Regions from separate parts of the Homo sapiens genome. Here all the other regions are linked to region 1. The links are contacts of gene promoters, found by promoter capture Hi-C in human tissues and cell types (Jung and others, 2019). All regions are on one chromosome and are shown on one strand. Each heading gives the region's core, a stretch centred on a gene start or on the middle of the fragment in contact. The rest is flanking DNA. Distances are from core to core; before and after follow the strand shown.

Region 1 (4,638 bases), core at 823-3,322:
ATGGGGGTGCACTGCTCGGGTATCCCCCCCTTAGGTTATGTAACCGCCTGTGGTTGCCATGGACACGGGGGCGGGGGTGGCCCAAGGAGTGGGATGGAGGCTTGGAGGCCCCCAGCCAGGGCCCTGCCTCTCCCATCCTCTTCGCCACCTCTGGGGACTTGTATAGCAGATCCCCAGAATCCAGGGTGCCAAGGAGGAAGTTCAGAGTCTAGCTTCCTCTCAGAGTGTCTGGGCCTCAGCTTGGCCCTCTATGAAACAGACCCCGGCTCACCCCGGTCTAGGGGAGCTGAGCAAGGCTTTCTGTGGCTCAGTCCCCATCCCCCTCTCCTAGGGCCTCACCTTTCAGGAGTCAAATTCAGAGCCAGGAGCCTCACTGGGGGCTCACCAAAGATTTGCATATTTTAGATGCCTTAGGAGGCCCTGGGGATATGTGAGTTAGTGAGTGCATACCTGGATGAGTTAGTGAGTTAGTGTATACCTGAATGAATGAGTTAGTGTATACCTGAATGGATGAGTTAGTGTATACCTGAATGAATGAGTTAGGAGGCCATAAATGGTATAAACTCCAGCTGGGGGGAGGGGGTGTCTTCCGGCTGGTCCACATTTGCCACAATGTCCCCTTCTCCAGGAACATCCCCACACAAGACGCCACCACCTTCCCTGTGGACACCCTGTGGGGTAAGCCATAGCCAAGTCTTTCTCTCTGAGGATAGACTAGGGTGACCCAGGAGGGTAACTACCACAAAGGCACTGCTCAGACAAAACATGTCAGTGCACGGTGGCTCACACCTATAATCCCAGCACTTTGGGAGGCCGAAGCAGGAGGAAAATTTGAGGTCAGGAGTTCAAGACCAGCCTGGCCAACATGGTGAAACCCCATCTCTACAAAAAATACAAAAATTAGCTAGACATGGTGGCACCTGCCTATAATCCCAGCTACTCAGGAGGCTGAGGCAAGAGAATCGCTTGAACCCAGGAGGGGGAGGTTGCAGTAAGCCGAAATCCGGCCACTGCCCTCCAGCCTGGATGACAAAGCGAGACTGTCTCAAAAACACACACACACACACACACACACACACACACAAACAAAAAAATCTCAGTGCCGTGGCTCACTTGATCTGGCGCTCCCCAAACTGGAGTCTAAAACAGTTCTCCCAAGGCTCAGGGAGTGCCTGCTGCACGGTGCAGGGTTCTCATTGAGACAGCACCTGAACTGGCTGCTGTCCTCACTCACAGGACACACCATGCTGACCGGGGTGACCGACGGTATCTTCTGTTGCCTGCTGGGCACGCCCCCCAACGCCGTGGGGCCACTGGAGAGCGTCGAGTCCAGCGATGGCTACACCTTTGTAGAGGTCAAGCCCGGCCGCGTGCTGCGGGTGAAGCATGCAGGACCCGCCCCAGCCGCTGCCCCACCTCCACCATCATCCGCATCCTCGGATGCAGCCCAGGGGGACCTCTCCGGCTTGGTCCGCTGTCAGCGCCGGATCACCGTGTACCGCAATGGGCGGTTGCTGGTGGAAAACCTGGGCCGAGCCCCTCGAGCCGACCTCCTACACGGGCAGAATGGCTCTGGGGAGCCGCCGGCCGCCCTGGAGGTGGAGCTGGCAGATCCGGCGGGCAGCGATGGCCGCTTGGCCCCCGGCAGCGCAGGCAGCGGCAGCGGCAGTGGCAGTGGTGGGCGGCGGCGGCGAGCCAGGCGCCCCAAGAGGACCATCCATATTGACTGTGAGAAGCGCATCACTAGCTGCAAAGGCGCCCAGGCCGACGTGGTGCTCTTTTTCATCCATGGTGTCGGCGGTTCCCTGGCCATCTGGAAGGAGCAGCTGGACTTCTTTGTGCGCCTAGGCTATGAGGTGGTGGCTCCTGACCTGGCCGGCCACGGGGCCAGCTCTGCGCCCCAGGTGGCCGCAGCCTACACCTTCTATGCGCTGGCTGAGGACATGCGAGCAATCTTCAAGCGCTATGCCAAGAAGCGAAATGTGCTCATTGGCCATTCCTACGGGTAAGTGAACCCTGGCATGTGGGGTGGGGGTGAGGGATGGGGTCAGCAGGGACTACAGTCACAAAATACTGAGTTTTTGGCTGAGCCCCGTGGCTCACGCCTGTAATCCCAGCACTTTGGGAGGCCGAGGCAGGCGGATCACCTGAGGTTGGGAGTTCGGGAACAGTCTGGCCAAGGTGGTGAAACCCCGTCTCTACCAAAAATACAAAAATTAGCCAGACGTGGTGGCACGCGCCTGTAGTCCCAGCTACTCGGGAGGCTGAGGCAGAGGAATCACTTGAACCGAGGAGGTGGAGGTTGCAGTGAGCCGAGATTGTGTCACTGCACTCCAGCCTGGGCGACAGAGGGAGACTCTGAGATGCCACTGACACCTGTAATCCCAGTGCTTTCGGGGGCCAAGGCGGGAGGATATCTTGAGGCAAGGAGTTTGAGACCAGCCTGGGCAACATAGGGAGAACCCCCTAGCTCTACAAAAAGTACAAACATTAGCTAGGTGAGGAGGTGCACGCATATAGTTCCACCTACTTAAGGGCTGAGGCAGGAGATTGCTTGAGTCTGGGAGGTCGAGGCTGCAGTGAACTGTGATCACACCACTGCACTCCAGCCTGGGCAGCATGGCAAGAACCTGTCGCTCTTTAAAAAAGAAAAAAAAATCCGGGCGCGGTGGCTCACGCCTGTAATCCCAGCACTTTGGGAGGCTGAGGCGGGCGGATCACGAGGTCAGAAGATTGAGACCATCCTGGCTAACACGGTGAAACCCTGTCTCTACTAAAAATACAAAAAATTAGCTGGGTGTGGTGGTGGGCACCTATAGTCCCAGCTACTCGGGAGGCTGAGGCAGGAGAATGGCATGAGCACGGGAGACGGAGCTTGCAGTGAGCCAAGATCATATTGTGCCACTGCACTCCAGCCTGGGCGACAGAAGGAGACTCCGTCATGAAAAAAAAAAAAGGGGCCACCACGCGCGGTGGTGCACATTTGTAATCCCAGCACTTTGTGGATGGATCATTGGAGATGAGTTTGGACAACATGGCAAAACCTTATCTCCTAAAACAAAACAAAGCAAACAAAAATCCTAATTTTTCTCCTTGAAAAAAATCCCATTTTTCAATTTAATTTTTACATTTTTAAAATTTTTTTTTCTTTTAAATAGAGATGGCATCTCACTATGTTGCCCAAGATGTTCTTTAACTACTGGGCTCAAGTGATCCTTGCACCTCAGCCTCCCAAAGTGCTAGGACTACAGGTGTGAGTCATTGTGCTCAGCCTTAATTTTTTTTTTTTTTTTTTTTTTTGAGATGGAGTCTCACTCTGTCCCCCAGGCTGGAGTGCAGTGGCGTGATCCTGGCTCACTGCAAGCTCCACCTCCCAGGTTCATGCCATTCTCCTGCCTCAGCCTCCCTAGTAGCTGGGACTACAGGCACCCGCTACCATGCCTGGCTAATTTTTTGTCTTTTTAGTACAGACGGGGTTTCACCGTGTTAGCCAGGATGGTCTCGATCTCCTGACCTCGTGATTCGCCCTCCTCGGCCTCCCAAAGCGCTGGGATTACAGGCGTGAGCCAACGCACCAGGCCAATTTTCAAGTTCAAAAAAAAATTATATAGAGAATGGGGGGGGGGTCTCATTATGTTGCCCAGGCTGGTCTTGAACTCCTGGGCTCAAGCCATCCTCCCTCCTTGGCCTCCCGATGTGGTGGGGTAACAGGCATGAGCCGCTATACCAGGCTGAAAACTCCCATTAGCATATGTAATCAGACAGGGATTTCCGTCATCACTGATATTGTTTCACATTGTTCTAAAGCAGTGTTGCTCAGGCCAGGTGCAGTGGCTTACGCCTGTAATCCTAGCACTTTAGGAAGCCAAAGCAGGCAGATCACTTGAGGTCAGGAGTTCAACACCAGTTTGGCCAACATGGTGAAACCCCATCTCTACTAAAAGTACAAAAAATTAACCAGGCATGATGGTGTGTGCCTGTAATCCCAGCTACTCGGGGGTGTGAGGCAGGAGAATCACTTGAACCTGGGAGGCAGAGGTTGCAGTGAGCCAAGATCACACCACTGCACTCCAGCCTGAGCAACAGAGTGAGACTCTGCCCAAAAAAAAAAAAAAAAAAAAAAAAGCAGTGTTGTTCAATCCCAGCACTATCGTGTTTGGCCAGGTTATTTTTTTTCTGTGAGGGGCTATAGGATGTTTAGTAGCATCCCTGGCTTCTGCCCACTGGATGCAACTACACAATCTAGTGTTGATCATGACAGTCAAAAATGTCTTCAGTAGTTGCCAAGCGTGCCCTGGTGGGCAGAATTACCCCCAGCTGAGAACCACTGCCTTAGACTAAGTTAAAAAATCAACTGCCCTGGAGAACACTGTGCATTCAGGAAGCGCTCATCGGAATCCTGTAAATTCTAGGCATTTACAAAGGCATGGGTTACTGTAATTCACTCCTGCTTAAAGGGCAGGTAATACAACCTAAAACTTACCAAGAACCCCTCCATGGAAGGCTTGGTCCCCAGGGCTTGACCACTACCAAGTGGCCTCATTCTCTCCTTTATCCAGGAAGAAAGGCAAGATTGAACAGCCAGGCAAGTTGAGCACCACTGTTTTAGAGATTCTAGCCTATGCAATTAGACAAGAA
Region 2 (4,638 bases), core at 1,278-3,777, 710 kb before region 1:
CTCTTGGATGTAGGCGAAGAACGGGCCTTCAAGGCTCATGTCGGGGTCCTGCGGAAGCGGGAAGGGGCTCTGCCCCAAGGCTGCCTCCTCAGTGTCGGCTACCACCTCCGAGTACTCAGGAGGAGCTGGAAGCGAGAGACAGGGTGGGTGAGGTTGGCAGGAGAGAGCCCTGCTCCAAGGGACCAGGGGCCAGGAGCTGGCTTGTGCCAGCTCTGGGGCTGCCAGGCTGTATGTCCTTTGGTTGGGATTCCGGGGGACTCGTGGTGAGAGAGTTGACCCGGCATCCACCTCTCCGTGTATCCACCCACCCTCTGCATGCAAGCAGGGTGGGAGCTTACCCTCAGGCCGCTCCGGCAAGGCCCCCAGCCTCCAGTCCAGCAGGAAGCTGGCGTGGCTGCCCACGCTGGAGGAACGGCTGCCAAAAGGGTGCAAGGGAATGGTGCCGATCACCAGTGGCAGCTCCAGCAGCAGCTTGGACGTTCCTGGGATATCCACACAGACCTGGAGGAAGGAACCATAAGGGAGGGTGCCCAGGCAGCCTCCCCAACCCCCACCTCCCTCCTATGCCTGGGGAGACTGAGGCCTCAGCTTCCCCCAGTCTGAGGGAATACAGGGTGAATGTAGGCACTGTCCCCCAGGGCCAGCAGGATGCCCTACCTTGAGTGCGTAGTCCACGTGTAGAACGCGGCAGTGCAGGATGGAAGGACCCACTGGGGGGATCCGCAGTGCCCGGCCCTGCCACAGCGCCCGCTGCCCGGGGCCCACCGGCTCGCCCGCGAGGCTGGCCACCACTGCCCGTTTCTGCTTTCGGGCGCCTCGGGCCATGAACGTCTGTGTCTGCACCACGGCTGCCCGAGGCAGCACAGGACGTGTGGAGCCGTTGTCGATCTCGGCAAAGACAGGGATGACCTCTCCTGCAGCAAGGAGCAGTGGGGCCTCAGTTTCCCCTCCTGCAACCCCAACACCAGCCCCCGTCCCAACCCAGTCCGGTCCGCCTGCTACCTGGGGTGTAGCCCTTGCGGTCGATCTTGGCCGAAAGGGAGACTAGGCCACGGTTACAGTACCAGGATCGGGCAACCTTTTCCCGAGCCCCCGCTTGAGGTGCCTGTCGGTGTAGAGGAAAGTGACATGGATGAGTCACTTTGTGCAAACCACAGTCGCTGTGGAGCTTCCAAACCACCCCCAGCTGAGGGAGGACTTTGGGCAGGGCTTGGTTTCTTTTTAACAATCCAGGAACTATCCGTTAAATAGAGCCAGGAACACAACCCATCTTATAAAGCCAGAAATGAAATGTATAAGCCAAGTGTTTGGTGTGTAATTCACACTTGGTAAGCCCTAGCTCTGGTCTATTTCACAGAAGAGGCATCTGAGGCTCAGAGAGGGCTTCAAGACACTTGCCCAGAGTCACACGGCAAATGGGTGCAGATCCCAGTGGATTCCACACGCATTCCCACACCTGCCTCCCTCCCTGCCAGGGCCCACCTATGACCTCCATCTTATTGGTTGGTGTCGCCCAGCAGCCAGGCAGGCCCCTTCCTACAATACTCCCAACCTACCTCCCCAAGGGTGGCCACTCACCAGCAGGGCTGGCGTGTTGATGTCCACAGGCTCGATGACAGTGAACACCTTCCTTGCCCGGCGTGCTGGGACCCAGGGCCGGTGCAGGGTGGCCTTGATACAGTAGCGGACACTACCGTGTTTGCCCTCGAAGGATGTCACCAGGGTCCTAGGGTGGAGGGACGGGACTTCAGGGGACAAGATACAGAGACAAGCAGGCAGGGAGAAGGAGACACAGACACTCCGGGGGCCTCCCAGGGGGAGAGTCTTGGGGCTCAGAGGTGCCCAGATATCCAGTATTGGAGGTACCAATCTGGAAGGGGCTGCAGGCTTAGGGCAACCCTGCACCCCAGAGGACTTACGGGGGCAGCTGGAAGCTGAACAGGAACTCATGGCGCCCAGGAGGCAGCGTCGTGGTCTCCCCGGTATCTGCAGGTAGGAGAAAAAGGAGGCGACTGAGCGGTTGCGCTGGGGTCCCAGGGCTGACGGAGGTACCGCCGTCCAGGTGGTGGGAGGCACACAACTGGTGTTGGAGCAGGGGTCCTCCATCCGTACCTGGCGCCAGGAGCGTGGCGCGGTGGCTCACGACCTCCACGCGTTCACTGTAGCTCTGCGTGTAAGCCGTGCTCGAGCCCGCGCTGCGCGACTCGGTCCAGTGCACGTGGGCGCGGCCCCGCGCGCGCAGCCTCAGGGCACCCACACGCGCGGCGCTTGACAGCTCCAGCAGCACCCGGCCCGCCACGGCCTGGCCGCCGCTAAACACGGGCTCGACGCCCGCGGTCGCGCCGTCCAACTGCACCGAGAACGCTTTCACCTTGTCGAATAGCATCGCGTCCGGGGTGCGAACCCACGACAGGCGGAACCTGGCCTCGAACTCGCGAACCGGCAGCTCAAGATGCCGACGCTGCAGCCTCAGAACGCAAAATCGCCGTCAACGCGCAGGCGCGCTCACCAACCGGAGCAGAAAATCCCCGCGCCGTGCGTCGGCGCCGCTTTTATACGGCAGGGCGGGGGGGGGTGGGGTCACCGTCTCTTCCCCGCCCCGGGAAGGGACTCCACCAATAGCGCGACAAGGGGCGTGGCTCTGCCCAGGCGTGGAGCAAAATAACAAACGCCCCTGCTCACCGCCGGCTGCCCCCTTCCCTCGCGGACCCCGGGGAGAAACTGAAGCCCTTAGGCTGCCAGAGCTGGTCTCTCGCGGACCCCGGGGGTAAAGAGGAAAAAAAGAGGTGCAGAGGCAGGGCCCAGGCCTGAGGTCACCTAGCAGAGCCTTCAGCCTCTCGGCTTAATCACTCACCAGCCGCCCCTCGTTGACGTGACTCGAGGCATGTCCAGCCCGATTTGGGGCGGGGGACTCTCGCCCCAGTTGAGGGCCAGAGAGCCTATGACTGTTCCAGGCCTGTTTCCCCCGCTATGCAAAGGGAGAAGTGGAGGAGGTGGGTGGGACCGCCCTCCACACTGGTGCCTGCTGCACCCCTTTCCTGATTCAAGTCCCGCTTAGCTGGTGGCTCTGGGCAAATGACAACCTCTTGGAGCCTCAGTTTCCACCTCTGTAGAGCCGGGAGAAAGTAAAAATCAGTCCTGACCTCAGAAGGTTGTGCATGGATCATCGTGCAGCCCCAGCTGGACTCCTCCAAGAGCCTCGCTCCCGGGTCATCAACCTGCTCTTGACATACCGTCACTCGGTCGCGCCTCGGCGCATTCGCCCAGGAGCGGTACCTACGAAATGATGTTCCCTTCCCAATTTTCAGCCTCTGGCAAACCCTACCTTCCCCGCAGCCCTTGTGCCTGCTCCAGTCATCCTCAGCCCCCGTCCCGCCACAGAGCTGAATGCAGGGGACGCTCGGGCACCCCCAGGTCCACAGCTGCGGTGTGGCCACGGGACGGCGTGACCTCTCTCTGGGCTTCAGTTTCCCCAAAGAAAAGTCGCATGGAGTTTCTCCAGCGGGAGTTGCCTCTGCGTCGTCTGCGGGACGCTGGCGCCCTCTCGTGGCAGCGTAATGCGCTGCCGCTGAACCCATCCCCTGCCGTGACTGTCCGCCTCTGAGCCTGGCTCAGGAGACTTCCACCACCTCAGTGAGGTGTGTGGGTGGAGGGGGCGGTCATAAACAAACACGGTCACCCTCAGCCCGTGATGGGGATCGGAACAGGAACGACGGAGTTGGAGGCACAGTGATCAGCCTGGAAGGCTGCCTGGGAGGATGGGTCTTTGGAGTTGAAAGGAAGGTCTGGGACCTTAGGCCAGGTTTCAATGGATACTAGAGGGGAGACAGTAGGCCGTTAAGTCCGGGAGGAGAAGCGGGATTAGGTAACCCTGAAGGGACTACTGAGCCAGCGCCTCCCTCAATTCATTTCGCAGACGGACCCCAAAGGCCCAGAGATGGGTGGGGCTCTGCCCGAGGTCACACAGCACCTCCACTGGCCTCGCCCCTCCAGTGTCACTGTTTTTTCCTTAAATGTATAACAATTTAACAATTTTTAAGCTCCCTCTCCCTCTCCCTCTCCCCTTGGTCTCCCTCTCCCTCTCTTTCCACGGTCTCCCTCTCATGCCGAGCAGAAGCTGGACTGTGCTGCTGCCATCTCGGCTCACTGCAACCTCCCTGCCTGATTCTCCTGTCTCAGCCTGCCGAGTGCCTGCGATTGCAGGCGCGCGCCGCCACGCCTGACTGGTTTTTTTGGTGGAGAAGGGGTTTCGCTGTGTTGGCCCGGCTGGTCTCCAGCTCCTAACCTCGAGTGATCCACCAGCCTCAGCCTCCCGAGGTGCCGGGATTGCAGACAGAGTCTCGTTAACTCAGTGCTCAATGGTGCCCAGGCTGGAGTGCAGTGGCGTGATCTCGGCTCGCTACAACCTCCACCTCCCAGCCGCCTGCCTTGGCCTCCCAAAGTGCCGAGATTGCAGCCTCTGCCCGGCCGCCACCCCGTCTGGGAAGTGAGGAGCGTCTCTGCCTGACCGCCCATCGTCTGGGATGTGAGGAGCCCCTCTGCCTGGCTGCCCAGTCTGGAAAGTGAGGAGCGTCTCTGCCCGGCCGCCATCCCACCTAGGAAGTGAGGAGCGCCTCTTCCCGGCCGCCATCCCATCTA
Region 3 (4,007 bases), core at 1,508-4,007, 520 kb before region 1:
GCGAAACCGTCTCTATTAAAAATACAAAAATTAGCCTGGTGTTCTGGCACATGCCTGTAATCCCAGCTACTCAGGAGGCTGAGACAGAAGAATTGCTTGAAACTGGGATGTGGAGGTTGCAGTGAGCTGAGATCATGCCATTGCACTCCAGCCTGGGCGACAGAGCGACTCCGTTTCAAAAAAAAGAAAAATGCGGACAGAGACAGACATACAGAAGGAAACTGAGAGATGAAGGCCGAGAGAGACTCAGAGAGAGAGAGAGAGAGAGATCCCTGTCCCTGCTCTCTTAGCCCCAGAGGGCCCCCTAATTTGGTAGAAATAGGGAGGGAGCTGCTCTGGGGTCAAGCAAGACTCGAGTTCCAGCCCAGGTTCTCTCCTGCCTAGGGTCAAGCATCCTTCCCTCTCTCAACCTCAGATTCCCTCCTTGGAAAAACAAAGCTATAAGACCCCCTAGGCATGAAGCGGGGGCCAAGCATCCACTGAACAAATAAATCCTGCTCTATTCTGGGTCCACCAGCCCCTGCTCACCCAGAGGGGACAACCGTGTTGGGGAGACAGAGCTTCGGATGGGACACCCCCAGCCCTGCGTGTCAGGCGCCTTGAGAAGACCTGGGCTCTGCTCAGCCTCCTGTGACCTTGGGCAAGTTTGGGGTCCTTTCTCTGTGCCTCAGTTTTCTTTTTTTCTTTTCTTTTCTTTCTTTTTGTCTGGTGAGGGGACGGAGTCTCTGTCCCCAGGCTGGTGTGCAGCGGCACCATCTCGGCTCACTGCAATCTCCACCTCCTGGGTTCAAGTGATTCTCCTGCCTCAGCCTCCCGAGTAGCTGGGATTATAGGCATGCACCACCACATCTGGCTAATTTTTGTATTTTTAGTAGAGACAGAGTTTCACCATATTGGGCAGGCTGGTCTCGAACTCTTGACCTCAAGTGATCCACCTGCCCCATCTTCCCAAAGTGCTTGCATTACAGGCATGAGCCACTGCACCTGGCCTGTGTGCCTCAGTTTTCTCATTTGTACAGTAATAGAAACAACAAAATTCTGAACATTTCTGGTCTTGGAAGATGCCCGCTGTCTTCCCCCCTGCCCCCCAGAAAAGGCAGGATTATTACTTTTCAGTTGATCTATTTCATCTCTTTAAACTGGTTAAGACAATAGCGAAGACTTGGCCGTGTGTGGTGCCTCACACCTGTAATCCCAGCATTTTGGAAGGCCGAGTAGGGAGAACCACTTGAGTTCTAGATGAGCCTGGGCAACATAGCAAGACCCCTGCCTCTACAATTAAAAAATTAAAAATGGCCGGGCGCGTTGGTGCACGCCTGTAATCCCAGCACTTTGGGAGGCCGAGGCGGGTGGATCACTTGAGGTCAGGAGTTTGAGATCAGCCTGGCCAACATGGTGAAACCCCGTCTCTGCTAAAAAATACAAAAATTAGCCAGGCTTGGTGGTGGGCACCTGTAATCCCAGCTACTCAGGAGGCTGAGGCAGGAGAATCGCTTGAACCCAGGAAGCAAAGGTTGCAGTGAGTCGAGATCGCACCACTGTACTCCAGCCTGGGTGACAGAGTAAGACTCTGTCTAAAAAGATAAAAATAAAAATTAAAAAATTAAAAATTAGCTGGGCATTGTATTGCAGGCCTGTAGTCCCAGCTACTCAGGAGGCAGAGGCTGAAGGATCGCTTGAGCCCAGGGGAATGAGGTTACAGTGAGCTATGATCCTGCCATTACAGGCCAACCCAGAGAGATCCTATGTCAAAAATGAATAAATACCCTGGTGTGGTCGCTCTCGCCTGTGATCCCAGGACTTTGGGAGGCTGAGGCGGGAAGATGACTTGAGTCCAGGAGTTTGAGACCAGCCTGGGCAACATGGCAAAACCCCATCTCTACAAAAAAAATACAAAAAATTAGCCGGGTGTGGTGGCGTGGGCCTGTAGTCCCAGCTACTCAGGAGGCTGAGGTGGGAGAATTGCTTGAGTCAGGGATAGGGAGGTGGCAGTGAGCCCATATCGTGCCACTGCACTCCAGCCAGGGTAACAGAGCAAGAACTCATCTCAAAAATAAAAAATAAAAATAGGTGGCTGGGCGTGGTGGCTTACACCTGTAATCCCAGCTACTTGGGAGGCTGAGGTGGGAGAATCACTTGAACCCAGGAGGTGGAGGTTGCAGTGAGCCGAGATCGCATCACTGCACTCCAGCCTGGAAGACAGAGCAAGACTTTGTCTCAATAATAATAATAAAAATAATAATAGTCCAGGCACAGCTCATGCCTGTAATCCCAGCATTTTGGGAGGCCGAGGCAGATGGATCGCTTGAGGTCAGGAGTTGGAGACCAGCCTGGCCAACATGGCGAACCCCAGTCTCTACTAAAAATAAAAAATAAAAAAAAAAAAATTAGCCAGGCATAGTGGTGCGCACCTGTAATCCCAGCTACTCAGGAGGCTGAGGCAGGAGAATCGCTTGAACCCGGGTGTCAGAAGTTGCAGTGAGCCGAGATCAAGTCACTGCACTCCAACCTGGGTGACAGAGTGAGACTCCATCTCAAAAAAAAAGAAGAAAAAAATAAAAAAGAAAGACTCGTTGCCCAGTGCTCCCTCTGGGAGAAGTACATCCAAGGCCCTGGCCCTGGGAGAAAGGCTCTGGCACTAACCCCACCCTTGACCTTTTTCCTGGGCGGTCCTGAAGAATGTTCTGTCCCTTCTCCAAGGCCCCCAGCTGGGACGGCCCAGGCGCCTATAAAGGGGGTCCCCGCTTGGCCCCGGCGCCACCCACCACCATGGACCCCCGTCTGCCCGCCTGGGCGCTGGTGCTGCTGGGCCCTGCCCTGGTGTTCGCGTTGGGCCCCGCGCCCACCCCAGAGATGCGTGAGAAGTTGTGCGGCCACCACTTCGTACGCGCGCTAGTGCGCGTGTGCGGGGGCCCCCGCTGGTCCACCGAAGCCAGGAGGCCTGCGACCGGAGGCGACCGTGAGTGGGGACGGGCAGGGACAGCGCTCTGGGAAGCCGAGGTGGGGCAGGTGCACGTAGGCGCAGATGCACACGTGCAGGGAGGTGGGCAGGTTTGCATGCATGTGCCCAGGGCTCACCTGCCGGCTGCGTGCACAGATCGTGGGTCCGCACTGGAGTGTGTGTGAACGCGCGTGTGAAAGTCCCCAGAGCCGTTAGCCAGGCGTGGTGGCTCACGCCTGCAATCCCAGCACTTTGGGAGGCTGAGGCGGGTGGATCCCCAGAGGTCAGGAGTTCGAGACCAGCCTGGCCAAAATGGTGAAACCCCATCTCTACTAAAAATAATTTTTAAAAAAATTAGCCGGGGATAATGATGCACATCTGTAATCCCAGCTACTTGGGAGGCCAAGGCAGGAGAATCGCTTGAACCCGGAAGGCAGAGGTTGCAGTGGGCCGATATCATGCCATTGCACTCCAGCCTGGGCGACAGAGTGAAACTCCGTCTCAAAAAAAAAAAAAAAAGAAAGTCCTCAGAGCATGAGTCCCCCTGAGGGGCCAGAAACAGAGTGAGGCAGGAGAGGTAGGCTCTTGCAAGTACATGGTGAGATCCTGTCTTAAAATTTCAATATTTTGATCTTCATGAATTTTTGCCTTAATTTTGCTTTGTTTGTTTGTTTTTTGAGACAGGGTCTCACTCTGACGCCCAGGCTGGAGTGCAGTGGTGAGATCTCGGCTCACTGCAGGCTCAACCTCCTGGGCTCAAACCATCCTCCTGCCTCAGCCTCTGGAGTGGCTGGGATACAGGTGCTGCCACCACACCCAGCTAATTTTTTTTTCTTTTTCGTAGAGAGGGAGTCTCACTCTGTTTCCCAGGCTGGTCTCAAACTCCTGAGCTCAAGTAATCCTCCCACCTTGACCTTCCAAAGTGTTGGGATTAGCGATGTGAGTCACTGTGTCCAGCTTTAAAAGTATTTAAAAGTATTGCTTTTGAAAAGTATTGCTTTTCACAATTATGTTACTTTATTTTATTATTTTATTTTTATTTATTTATTTTGAGACATAGCCTCGC

What was found. Contacts are between HindIII fragments. The study calls those that stand out against the background at their distance.
Region 2: the fragment with the promoter of ARRDC2 here is called in contact with a fragment that was not itself captured in region 1 in 1 of the 25 tissues and cell types used here (dorsolateral prefrontal cortex).
Region 3: the fragment with the promoter of INSL3 here is called in contact with a fragment that was not itself captured in region 1 in 1 of the 25 tissues and cell types used here (spleen).

What each region holds. Positions count from the first base shown.
Region 1 is chr19:17,298,223-17,302,860 of GRCh38, reverse strand. ABHD8 (abhydrolase domain containing 8) reads left to right here. Exons shown (of 5, transcript NM_024527.5): 2 at 1,237-2,005. The coding sequence starts at 1,245. It also overlaps a transcript of MRPL34 not described here. Among named protein-coding and RNA genes, the nearest start is that of ABHD8, 2.9 kb to the left of the region's middle. RefSeq lists a silencer at 247-541 and enhancers at 899-1,399, 1,400-1,900. The HindIII fragment of the contact is 7,858 bases long and covers 1-4,638 here.
Region 2 is chr19:18,006,059-18,010,696 of GRCh38, reverse strand. ARRDC2 (arrestin domain containing 2) reads right to left here and starts at 2,527. Exons shown (of 8, transcript NM_015683.2): 1 at 2,113-2,527; 2 at 1,920-1,986; 3 at 1,579-1,726; 4 at 1,003-1,105; 5 at 658-914; 6 at 339-501; 7 at 1-125. The coding sequence starts at 2,386. RefSeq lists an enhancer at 2,254-2,473. The HindIII fragment of the contact is 21,109 bases long and covers 1,342-4,638 here.
Region 3 is chr19:17,820,269-17,824,275 of GRCh38, reverse strand. It overlaps INSL3 (insulin like 3), which reads left to right and starts at 2,757. Exons shown (of 2, transcript NM_005543.4): 1 at 2,757-2,959. The coding sequence starts at 2,770. The HindIII fragment of the contact is 21,957 bases long and covers 1-4,007 here.